Linked DNA regions of Homo sapiens: region 1 is linked to region 2. Evidence: promoter capture Hi-C in human tissues and cell types (Jung and others, 2019). All regions are on one chromosome and are shown on one strand. The core of a region is centred on a gene start or on the middle of the fragment in contact, and the rest is flanking DNA. Distances in the headings are between cores, read along the strand shown.

The links. The method cuts DNA at HindIII sites, captures the fragments that hold promoters and counts their contacts. A contact is called where the count stands out against the background at its distance.
Region 1: a fragment that was not itself captured here is called in contact with the fragment with the promoter of IL2RA in region 2 in 1 of the 25 tissues and cell types used here (mesenchymal stem cells).

The regions. Positions count from the first base shown.
Region 1 is chr10:7,440,211-7,446,223 of GRCh38, forward strand. It overlaps LOC124902373 (a long non-coding RNA gene), which reads right to left and starts at 3,222. Exons shown (of 2, transcript XR_007062050.1): 1 at 1,379-3,222; 2 at 284-1,169. It overlaps LINC02642 (long intergenic non-protein coding RNA 2642), which reads right to left. Exons shown (of 4, transcript NR_184109.1): 4 at 4,082-5,582. RefSeq lists a silencer at 5,392-5,598 and an enhancer at 5,471-5,570. The HindIII fragment of the contact is 3,759 bases long and covers 1-3,317 here.
Region 2 is chr10:6,060,343-6,067,153 of GRCh38, forward strand. IL2RA (interleukin 2 receptor subunit alpha) reads right to left here and starts at 2,025. Exons shown (of 8, transcript NM_000417.3): 1 at 1,746-2,025. The coding sequence starts at 1,809. RefSeq lists an enhancer at 1,736-1,785, a cis regulatory region at 1,778-2,408 and a silencer at 5,410-5,610. The HindIII fragment of the contact is 4,925 bases long and covers 391-5,315 here.

The DNA of each region.
Region 1 (6,013 bases), core at 188-2,687, 1.4 Mb after region 2:
TTCTTTCAGGCTGGGCACAGTGGTTCACCCCTATAGTCTCAGCACTTTGGGAGGCCGAGGTGGTAGGATAGCTTGAGGCCAGGAGTTCTAGACCAGCCTGAGCAACACAGTGAGACCCCAAATGTACAAGAAATAAAAATAAAACAAATTAAGCCTGGCATGGTGGCACATGCCTGTAGTCCCAGCTACTTGGGAGGCTGAGGTGGGAGGATTGCTTGTGTACGAGGCTGCAATGAGCCATGATCACACCACTGCACTCCAGCCTGGGTGACCCTATCTCTAAAAAAAAATTGTTTTTAATGAAAAAAAATATGATTTACTATTTTTAACCCATCATAGTTTAAGAGTCTGGACATAGGACTAGCTCATTGTTTGGAAACCTAGTATATGCCTGGCACCCTTAACACAACCCTTCCAGCAACCCTGCGAGGTGGGTCCTTTTATCCTCATTTTAAGAATCAGAAATGGAAGACTTAGGGAAGCCTAATGACTTGTCCACTAATAAGTGACAGAACCTGGAACTCAAAGCTGAGTTCAATGGACTCTAGAGGCTCATGTTCTTTCCAGGGCACTGTCGCTCAGAGTGAGGTGTACTGCCCAAGTCATGGTAATGCCTGGCGTTCGCCACCTGATAGAAGCAACAACAACAATGAACACACCTCTGCCCAGGCAAGGTGGCTCACGCCTGGAATCCCAGCACTTTGGGAGGCTGAGGTGGGCGGATCACCTGAGGTCAGGAGTTCCAGACCAGCCTGGCCAACTTGGTGAAACCCCGTCTCTACTAAAAATACAAAAATTAGCCAGGCATGGTGGTGCACACCTGTAATCCCAGCTACTCGGGAGGCTGAAGCAGAAGAATCACTTGAACCCAGGAGGAGGAGGTTGCAGTGAGCAGAGACGGCGCCCCTGCACTCCAGCCTGGGTGACAGAGCTAGAATCTGTCTCAAAAACAGAAAACAAAAAACAAAAACAAAACAAAAAATCACCTGTGGGTGTAGGAGATGGCACGGCTGTCTGCAACAGGCTGGGAATAGAGAAGGCTGCACTTCCACACTACCCTGGGATGTTTTCTTGTCTCAATTCCTCAGACCTTGGCTCCAACCTCTAAAGCAAATTGCCTGGGTTGCTTTTGCAGTGGAAAAGCACCGGCACCCATTCCAGACGAAACTCTGATTAGGAAGAAAGGGAAGAGTTTGTAAAATGGGACGAAGATGAAATTGGAACAGAGCCTGGGAAAAGGAGATTATGGGGACCCTCCCTCCAGCCTCCCAGCCCCAGCTGTGCAGTGATCCATCAGGGGCTGAGCAGTGCAATTTATGCTTTCAGTCCACAGGAGCATCCAGGGAAAATGGAGGGGGTGGCAGGGAAGAAAAATGACCTTTTTGCTCTTCCCATGTTGCTCCGGCTTTCAGATCGCGCCTGCAATATCCTTGGCTTATTTGTGCCGCGTGGAACTGTTAGCAATCACAAGAGAACGACAGGATCAGTGGGGGAGATTCCAGCCAAGGTTTGCATCCAACCACAACTCAAATTAGTCCTTTTGAAAAATGGGTTCCCACCTGAAAGCAAAAATCAAAACACAAGAAAAAAAATCCTCATTGTTTCAGGTATCTGCAGTCCACTGAGCACTTTAGTCTTTTAGAAACCAAAGCTCCATAAGCTGCTGGAACACCTTCTACAGATTAACTGTGGCTTTCCTGTGTGCGTAGAACAGCACTCATTCCAGGATTCCCCATAATGTGTAAAATATTAACGTGATAAACTGGAAATGAAATAACACCACACCTGGGGACCATCGATCATAGCCAAACAGTAGACCTGCAGGGAGACTTCTCGAGGATTGGAGGTGGAGTTTCAGAATCAGCAGCACAAAATCCAAACACTTGGTCTGGCCCCGATGGCCAAGGGAGCATGCAGGACACTTCTTTGTATCTCACTGTATAGTAGGCGTGGTTAGTGCCTCTGGATCCAGGATCTGGGGACCACCCGTCATCTTGGCGTGTTGAATCAACGCCTTGCTTCAAATGCACAGTGACTCGAGTTTGTTACTGTATTCCCCGTCTGATTCCCTGCCCCGTCTCCAGGCCCAGGCAGTGACCAGAGCTCCATGTATTCAGATGCTCTAAAGGAAACACATGTTTGAGTTGCAAGCAGGTGTTTTGCCTCCCTGTCATTGTTCTTCCCATTTAAGCTTTTCTGGAACTGCTCAATGAGCTTGCAGCTTGGGCAGCCCTTGAATTTGAGAGAGGAAGGTGGAGCGGCTATAGGGAGTGGGGAGGTCACAGAGGAGCACACCTCATTGAGGGAACCCAGCCTGAGATTCAGACTTGGTAAGTCAGCACAGGAAACAGCAGGCTGGAGAGGAGCTGGGTGCCATGACACACAAAAGGAGGAAATACCTGGGGTCCGAGTGCACTCCCACGTAAAGCTTCAATCACGCCGTGTAGACAGCTGACTCTGTGACGAGCCATGAGCCAGCTCATCCACGGGCCGTGTATGTTCCACGGCCACACAATCCATGATTGATTTTCCCTACAGAGTCCGAGGGAGAATTCAGTATAAAAATACCCTGTTCAACAAACAAGTCAAACGACCGGAAAGGGAGATGAACTGGAGGCCGAGGCGCACCCGATGGGTTAGGCAAGCCATTTGCAAGCTGAATGTGCCATGCACTCAGCCACTCTGCAGTTCTCTGCAGAGGTAGGAATTGGAATCCAAGATGTGGGGACCTCCCCACCCCATAAAATGGGTCATTTTGAAATCTTGGTCTTAATTTTTAATATGGTAAATATCAACACACATACAAGAAAAACGCTAGGATTGTCAATAATGTTTTATGAATTTAAAGGTGACACAAACCAAAATGCTTGAAAATCACTGAAAAATGACTCTTTTTCCTTGAAAAACAAAAGCAATTACAGTTTGTATTTCTCTGTCACTATTATTCCTAGTATAGTTGTAACCACTTATGTTAATCATCACTTTTCATCACAGTAAGTTCTATTTCATAAAGGAAACTGGAAGCAGGGGTGGACTGTTGAGGGATGTCATATACCAGTGTTTTCTACTGGAAAATGGGTAATTTTAAAAAAACATTTTCTGAGTAAATAGTTACATAACCTGAAATGTAAAACTGTTTTAATTCCTATTCTTACTTTACATGCTTATATTCATAACTTACACTGAATCTTTCTTTTTATTCCCCTTGAACTCTTATTTTTGTATTTTTCTATCAAAACACACCATAACTTTTGTCTGGATTATCACAGTGCTCCAGTTATCCCAGTATCCAGAGCCTCCTAGCCTCTGAATGCCACTTCTTAAGTAGGAAGGAGCAAGTGGCAGAAGCATGTTTCTGATTCTAAATTCTAAAGTAGTGGTCTCCGATTTTTTTTTGTTTTGTTTTGGAGACAGGGTCTTTTCCTGTCACCCAAGGCTGAAGTGTGGTGGGATGATCATAACCCACTGCAGCCTTAAACTCCTGGGCTCAAGTGATCCACCTACCTCAGCCTCCCAAGCAGCTGAAACTACAGGCACGTATCACCCTGCCTGGCTAATGTTTCAATTTTTTTTTTTTTTTTTTTGAGATGGCGTTTTGCTCTTGTTGCCCAGGCTGGAGTGCAATGGTGTGATCTTGGCTCACTGCACCCTCTGCCTCCCAGGTTCAAGTGATTCTCCTGCCTCAGCCTCCCGAGTAGCTGGGATTACAGGCATGCACCATCACACCTGGCTAATTTTGTATTTTCAGTAGAGACAGGGTTACTCCATGTTGGTCAGGGGGTTCACGAACTCCGACCTTGGGTGATCCACCTGCCTTAGCCTCCCAAAGTACTGGGATTACAGGCATGAGCCACCACACCCGACCTAGTGCTTTAATTTTTGTTTTTGTTTTTTTTTTGTAAAGACAGGGGTCTTCCTATGTTGCATAGATTGATCTCAAACTTCTGGCCTCAAGCAATCCTCCTGCTTTAGCCTCCCAATGTGCTGGGATTACAGGCCCGAGCCACCACACCAAAAATTTTTATTGCCTCATATCTCTACCTGTAAAAAAATAATAAAATAAAAATAATCAAGCCTAAACTCCCCATTAAATTCATAATTATTTATTTAAAGAGAATGACCATGCACTATTGTATGAATATAGTAGATACATTATAAAACATCCAGAAAAATGGGGGGAGGGAATTTTAAAGGAGAGGAAAATAAGCTTAATTGGAAGCTCCCAAGTTTTCCCCACATCATTTAATTGAATCAGAAATCCCATTTTTGAAAACCATTTGATCCAATGAAAAGGAAGGATGACTTAATGAAAGCATCCTTTGTGTTTGATAGGAGAGGCTTTTTCCATTGTATTTCTTGCCAAACACACAAACAAGCCAAGAACACAGAACAGCTCCCCAAGAAGCTAGCTTCCCTATTTCTGTTCTAAGATGTATTTAAACCAGCTTTGCTGCTACCAGTTCACTTTCTGTGGCAGAGAAAGCTGCCAGAGTTTCCTGGCTTTGTCCCTTAGTGGCCTCTCTACCGGGTGGGGCTGTGGACAGACTCAGCAGAGCATTTATTGCGGCGGCTTTGCAGCAGCCGTTTCTAAGGAGATGGTGCCTGAGCCCCATGCAGAACGCCATCCCTTCCTTTCCCCCCGATTTGTTTCTGCCTAATTGAACTCCCGCTGGCTGTGTTCCAGCACAGTTCTGTTTCACCTACTGATAAATGGTCGTTCACTTTCCAGTTTCAGAACTCAGCTAACCCCTGGAATGAACCACGGTTCATCTTCACGGTGTCCTCAGTGCAGAGCGCCGTGCATCAGACGATCGATGCGTATTCGCAGCAAATTGGCCATTCAGCAGTGCCGTGCAGGAACCTCGGAGGCACAGATACGGAACAGCTTTTCTGACAATGTCATGGCCTTCCCCAGACTCACTGGGGAACCTTATTTGAAGTTTTAAGAAAAAGAACTTGGACTTTCTTACAGCTTCTTGCTAAAGTTCAGGAGTTCTAAATGATTACCCCAGAGAACCCATCAGATAACTATGTCTCCAACTAAATGAATAAGATGAAATTTGACACAAAATAAATACAGGCACCTATCTGTCCATGGGTCATTTGGGGAAAACCAGAAACATGTATTTAATGCATGTCTCTGAACTTACATACTTCCAGTCATCAAAGTAACTAAAGCTTATAGAACAAGCAATTCCACGGATGATCTAAGCCCATCCTGCGCTGGACACCTCTGAGAAAGTGAATTAGCATTAGGATTATTGCAGAGAGATAAGAATCTAAGTAAGTCTAAAATGTGGAACATGCTGCTTATATTTAATTTTGTTTTGTATTTTCCTTTCTTCTCTTCTAATTAGGTGATTTTAGAGGAATAAACACCCTTAGCCGTCAGCCAACATTTTACAAATGAAGGCCAGCAAGGGAAAGGAGCTCACTGAAGGCCCATGCTCATTAATGAGGAAGCAAAAACAACAGCACACAGCCTCTGTTCCCAGGGCCACGCTCCTCGATTTCTAAGCGCTGTTCCAGTTCACACAGGACAAGACATCCTTTTTTCTTCTAGAACAACAGCTCAGCCCCACCTGAAAGAAAAAGTTCATTGATACTTTTTCAAAGGCTTCACAACTCAGCTTTTTTGGAGACTTCAGCAAAATAAGTCATTATCTGGCCAACTTTAAGAATGAGGTTTGCTAAATGTATCAGCATTCTGAGGTTATCAGAAGACTCTGCACACTTGCATATCTCACAAATACCGTCAATAAATACATAGTTTCATTTCCTCATTGATTCACACATTGCTTTTCCTATGTGAAATGCTTCATAACAGGCTCAATATGAATATTCAAAAAGAATGTGATGTGGTCTGCCATGAATATAAGTCAGTAAGTAATAAACATTGCTAAATGTCCTATTCCGTAACGTAGTGATAACCTACTCCCTCTATTTAGGAAAATCACATGGTCCTTGACTTCTTTTTGGAGGACAGAGTCTCACTCTCTCATCCAGGCTGGAG
Region 2 (6,811 bases), core at 775-3,274:
TTACAACGCATTGGGTACAGCATACATGCTCAGGTGATGGGTGCACCAAAATCTTACAAATCACCACTAAAGAACTTATTCATGTAACCAAACACCACCTGTCCTCCAAAACCTATTAAAATAAAACACATAGGTCAGGCGCGATGGCTCACACCTGTAATCCCAGCACTTTGGGAGGCCATGGCTGGTGGACCACAAGGTCAGGAGTTTGAGACCAGCCTGACCAATATGGTGAAACCCCATCTCTACTAAAAATACAAAAATTAGCTGGTCGTGGTGGTGCACGCACCTGTAAACCTAGCTACTCAGGAGTCTGAGGCACGAGAATTACTTGAGCCCATGAGGTGGAGGTTGCAGTGGACTGAGATCACGCCACTGCACTCCAGCCTGGGCAACAGAGTGAGACTCTGTCTCAAAAAGTAAAAAAAAAATAAATAAAAATGTAATAAGTAAATAAAATGCCCTCTTTAAAGACACTCCTACATCTGGGCCAGTACACAGCCCAGCATGACTGGGCACTTCCCCTAAACAAGCAAGCAGACTCCTGAAATGCATCATTATGTTTCATTTCTTAATAAATTCTTTCTACAGCCAGTTAGCATTCTACTTGTTGCCATTATAGACTTTCAAAAAACACTATAAACTTTCTTATCTGTCTTCCTGAGTAAGCAAAGGGAAGACATTATTAGAAAATTCACACTCAATTAGGAAGAGTGGTTTGAGGTAGAAGTTGGTGGTTTTTTATTTCTTTAAAAAAAAATATTGGCCAGGCACGGTGGTTCATGCCTGTAGTACCAGCAGTATGGGAGGCCAGGGTGAGTGGATCACTTGAGCCCAGGAGTTCAAGACCAGCTTGGGCAACATGGCAAAAACCCCATCTCTACAAAAAAATAAATTAACCAGGTGTGGTGGCGTATGCCTGTAGTCCCAGCTACTCAGGAGGCTGAGGTGGGAGGATCGCTAAGCCTGGGAGGCGAAGGTTGCAGTAAGCCAATATCGCGCCACTGCACTCCAGTCTGGCTGACAGAGACAGTGTCAAAAAAAAAAAATCTTCGAGAAAATCCATTTGAAACAAGGAATGAAATTTAAAATTTGCATATATAAACACGTATACATATACATATCATGTATATACATAGGATTATGAGAAGTAGTAATGTTCTAAAAGTGAGTATGCATATTTTTAAAAATTTCTGTAAAGTTGCACTTGTAAGGAAATTCCTAGGTGTTATTTCCTAAGACGTAAAAGCAGTGTATACATCCTTGAAGCTAAACTTTTCTGAGATCTTAAATTCTCCCAGTGTTTGATATATGAGTACTCATGTCTCCAGCAAATTAACCTGAACTTAAAGAGCTTCCTGATAGCTTCTTAGTTGGGGGGTGGGAGTGCAGAGAATAAAAGGAAATTCATTGAAGAATAAAAGATAATTTCTTGAGAAACCTGCTCATCGGGACCCTGTTAACATCCAAATATCCCAAATATCATGCCACACTATTCTTCCCAGAATTAATTGTCAAGGACTGAGAAGGACAGGAGAACCTAATGCTATTTCAGGCTCTCTTGACAGACCAAGGAACAGTGAGGCATAAACTGGGGTCCCCGTGGGTCACAGGCAAGAGGTGGAACCCAAGATTCAACTCCCTTCTTGGAACCATCTACCTGGGGACTCCCTCTGGTTCTGTGGCTGGGAAGAGGGATGCCCATCAGCCTTCCCGGAATTCCGGGGGCACCCACAGGCCCTTACCTGCCTGGCAGCCAGGCACCATGATGAACGTGAGCAGTCCCCACATCAGCAGGTATGAATCCATCTTCCTGACCCTTGGGACCAGCCGGGGCAGTGAAGCGGAGGTCTTTCTCTGCAGAAGGCCCAGTTGCCGTCAGCCTCTTTTTGGCATCGCGCCGGAGGATGTGGGATGGGAAGATCGGTCCGCCTGGGCTGTCACCCTTGTGGGTCCATCCAGTCTCTATCGGAGTCAGGAGTTGCTCTCTTTAAGTATTGGGCTGGCGTGTTCAGCCAGGAAACTGCCTAGCACTCTCTTCTCTCATCTCAAATATAGGAAGTGTTTTTTTTTTTTTTTTTTTTTGATGACAATATAGTTTGCGGTAATTTTTCAAACCAGGTTTTTTTTTTCAAGTTCAATTGCTGGAGGTGTGGGCTGGGGTTGATGAGAAGGATTGAACTTCATTTATGAATCCTTTCTTCAGCTACGCCCATAAAAGGAGAGGGAGATTCCCCTGCCGTTGAAGGTAGGGTGAGCAAGCACTTCTTGGCAGTGGTCTCACCCAGCACTTCATAAGCTGAGTCCTCCCCTCAGGGCTGTAACGTCCTCAGGAGTCAGCCGGGACCACCTGGGATGAAGGAGCAAAGTCCTGACAAGATTCTGGTCAGGCAGCCTCCAATATTCAAATAATGGAGAAGGATGCGGCGAACTGAAGGATCCTGAGAATTCATAAATAATTCCCCAAGGCTTATAACCTGTACTAGCCATCATCATTTCACCACAGTGCCCTGGGCTCCTGAAAGTGCATTGTCATTTTATAAGGTGTTTTGCTTCCAGATTTCTTTCTCTTAAAGGATCATGCAAAAAGTGGGCTTTGGTTTTAAACTTTGGATTATTTTGTAAAATTCAGTCTTGCTTATTTATTGATCAGAGCTCTCTTCTGATTATTATGAAATGGTTGAGTGTGTTTTGCTCCCTGGAAATTTGTCTAAGACTTAAAGCCATTGCATAGTTAGAGCAAAACACAATTTTTTAAATACTAGAAAGCAAGCAAAGATATTAACAAAAAGAAAACCCTCCGGGCAAGCCAAGGAATTCAGGGTTCCAAAACACATCACGTTGACTGGGCCTGGTGGCTCATGCCTGTAATCCGAGCACTTTGGTAGACCAAGGTGGGTGGATCACCTGAGGTCAGGAGTTTGAGACCAGCCTGGATGACATGGTGAAACCACCGTCTCTACTAAAAAAAAAAAAAAAAAAAAAAAAAAAAAAAAATTAGCCAGGCGCAGTGGCACACGCCTGTAATTCCAGCACTTTGGGAGGCTGAGGCAGGCAGATCACCTGAGGTCGGGAGTTTGAGACCAGTCTGGCCAACATGGTAAAACCCCATTTCTACTAAAAATACAAAAATTAGCCAGGCGTAGTGGCGGGCGCCTGTAATCCCAGTTACTCAGGAGGCTGAGACAAGAGAATAGCTGGAACCGAGGAGGTGCAGGCTGCAGTGAGCTGAGATTGCGCCACTGCACTCCAGCCTGGGCGACAGAGTGAGACTTCCATCTCAAAAAACTTGTCAAAATATGACAAGATTCTCTTAAATTCCACAGCAGGTATAACTTCCTCTCTAGGAACGTTTCTCACTCTGCGGGCAAGTGCTCCAGTAGAAACTCCTAGTACTCCCACCAAAGTCACGCTCCTTTCTTCTTGGGCATGGGAGTAGAATGCACTTGCTGCCTCTCCTGGAAAATAGCTTATGCTTTAAGTAGTTAATGTGGATTGTCATTATAAAATATTTAAATTTATGTTAATGTCTTTTTTTTTTTTTTTTTGGAGCGCAATGGCACAATCTTGGCTCACTGCAACCTCTGCCTCCCAGGTTCAAGTGATTCTCCTGCGTCAGCCTCCTGAGTAGCTAGGATTACAGGCACGCGTCACCACATCCAGCTAGTTTTTGTATTTTTAGTAGAGACGGAGTTTCACCATGTTGGTCAGGCTGGTCTCGAACTCCTGACCTTAGGCGATTCACCCACCTCGGCCTCCCAAAGTGCTGGGATTACAGGTGTGAGCCACCACGCCTGGCAATTACAAGATTTTTTTAAAGCCATATCACAAAGCCCCCACAATTTTTCTGGTAAATAAGAGGCCCAACTCTTGGTTCTGAGATGGACCATGGTTAAACAAGTCATTGAACTGGCTTTTCTGGTTCACCTTACGGATGAACGCTCTGTCGTCGTTTGCTGATGCTGAGGTTTCCAGTTGATGCTGCATGGCACGATGCAGGGATGTGAGAAGAAGTTGGGGGTGCAAAAGCAGACCCATTTTGTCACGGATTGCCCAGGATCTCATACTGAAGCTGTAGCAAAGCTTTTGCCCTTAATGAGTTTACAGGTGAAATGGAAAGACACTTGAGTGTCCCTTCCTCCAGGAGGCCTTTTCCAGTCCTTTCTACTCCATCATAACACCTGCCGTGCTGCATTGCAATTCACTGTTTATATCTCTTTCTTTCTTCTAGTTGCTGTTAATCTTTTTTGGATTAAAAACTCTTTTTTGTTTTTAATTTAAGTTCCAGGATACATGTGTAGAACGTGCAGGTTGGTTACATAGGTATAAGTGCGCCATGGTGGTCTGCTGCACCTACTCACCTGTCTTCTAAGTTCCCTCCCCTCACACCCCACCCCCCACCCTGCAGCAGGCCCTGGCGTGTGATGTTCCCCTCCCTATGTCTATGTGCTGTCATTGTTCAACTCCCACTTATGAGTGAGAACATGCGGCATTTGGTTTTCTGTTCCTGTGTTAGTTTGCTGAGGATAATGGCTTCCAGCTTCATCCATGTCCCTGCCAAGGACATGATCTCATTCCTTTTCATGGCTGCATAGTATTCCATGGTGTATATGTATCACATTTTCTTTATCTAGTCTCATTGATGGGCATTTCAGTTGGTTCCATTTTGCTATTGTAAATAGTGCTGCAATAAACATACGGGTGCATGTGACTTTATAGTAGAATGATTTCTATTCCTTTGGGTATATACCCAGTAATAGGATTGCTGGGTCAAATGGTATTTCTGATTTTAGATGCTTGAGGAATCGCCATACTGTCTTCCACAATGGTAAAAACTCTTTTCTTAATTTGATAGAACCTTTGGTTTCCCTCCTTGGAAAAAATGCACATCAGCACATACTCTGGATAAATCCGTAGGAAGTTTCAGGAGCATTATGGGCAGTTTGTTTTGTTTTGCTCTGTTTTGTTTGAGATGGGGTTTCTGGAGTGCAGTGTTGCCATCTCAACTCACTGCAGCCTCTACCTCCTTGACTCAAGTGATCCTCCCACTTCAGCCTCTCAAGTAACTGGGACCACAGGCATGCACCACCAGGCCTGGCTAATTTTTTTTGTAATTTTTGTAGAGATGGGGTTTTGTCATGTTGCCCAGGCTGGTCTCAGACTCCTGGACTCAAGCGATCCTCCCACCTCAGCCCTGCAGAGTACTGGGATTACAAGTGTGAGCCACCACACCCAGCGGTTGTGGGCACTCTGAACTTCAAAGGTCCAAGGATCTCAGGTTAAGGTGTCAAACTGTGGGCCTCTAGAGGATAGCCCTATGTCCAGTTTATCTGTGAACTTACGTCACCTAACAAAGTGCATAACACATATGGGTGTCCAACCACTATGTATGAAGCCACATGTGCATACAAATATAACTAGCATATACTAAAGCAGTTTCAGACAAATTCTTTGTGAGGCAAATTCAAAGTTTTGTTTCAAACCTGCTGCAAGGAGGTAATTTCCAATAAGTCCGGTTCAAAGATTTCTTTCCTAGTAGAGGGTTTTTTTTTTTTTTTTTTTTTTTGAGGAAAGTTATCTAGATAACATTGGTAGATTAAGTTCAAGAAAGGAACAAGTTCAAGAAAGGAACATTTGGTTAAAAGTAACTAGGTTCATCCAGGGACAGCCGGTCAACAGTGCAAGCTGAGTCTCACTTCATCAGGAAATTGCTCAATTCTATTATCAGAAATGTTTGGTACTTCCTAGAAGAAACTGCTCAGAACAGCGGACAACAAATTTCTGACCTAGACTGCCTTCCCTTAGGTTTAAGACCACTTTCTTTCTAGACGTACAGTGGGGTGAATACTAATGATTATGGTAAGAAGAGCAATTGAAATGTAGGAGGGAAAAGTTGTTGAGCTGATGTGATCAGGAAAGGCCCACGTATTGTCCTTGAAGGATGGATACGGCCTTGGTAGGTGGTTCCTGAGGAAGCAGAGTGTGGTCCATAGTTAACCAGAAGTAGAGAGGGGTAGAAGCTAAGGGCAGAAATATCAGCTGGATTCAGAGTCAGGTGGACCTCGAAAAACAGAATAAGATCTATGGACTTCAGCCACTGAAGCTGTCTAACCCAGGCGGGACATAGCCAAGTGATGTGATGATGAGGCCGAGCTGGTGTGGTGTGCAGGGAAGATTGAGGCATAGAGATGCTGAAATACTCTTCAGGAAGGAAATCATAAGGACTGGAGGAAGGTGAAATAAATTGGAATGGCAAGGAGGCTTGATGCCAGAATATCAGGCAAAGGGAAAATGCAGTTGGTAATGCCTGGATGTGGGGCAAGAAGCGGGGAACAGAATTTGTGAGCTTTGGCGAGGAGAAAATTCACTGATTTGAGCTCATCAAATGGATTGGCGAAATTCAAGTGTGTGAGGCTGAGGTTAGGGGATGGCAGAGAGGCAGTAGCATTTGTGAACAGGAGTTAGTTGTTCACTTGGGTTGTTCTCTTGTTCCTACAATGTTGGACAGTCCTTGAAGACAGCATTTATTATCCAGACAACTCTAAAGCTTGACTTGCCACCCCCCTAGCCCCAACCACAAGAACGAGTTTTCAGCTTGCAACAAAAATCATTTCTGTTTATTAGAGTCTAGATTGGGGAGCAGGGGCAAAGAGTAGAGGAAAAAAGGGGAGAGGTGGTGAGGAATCAATCACCTTTCATTTTCCTTTACTTACCCTTGGGGCTTGTTAACGGTCACTTCCACAATGCCCATAGAACCGGCCGAGCACGATGGCTCACGCCTGTTATCCCAGCACTTTGGGAGGCCGAGGCA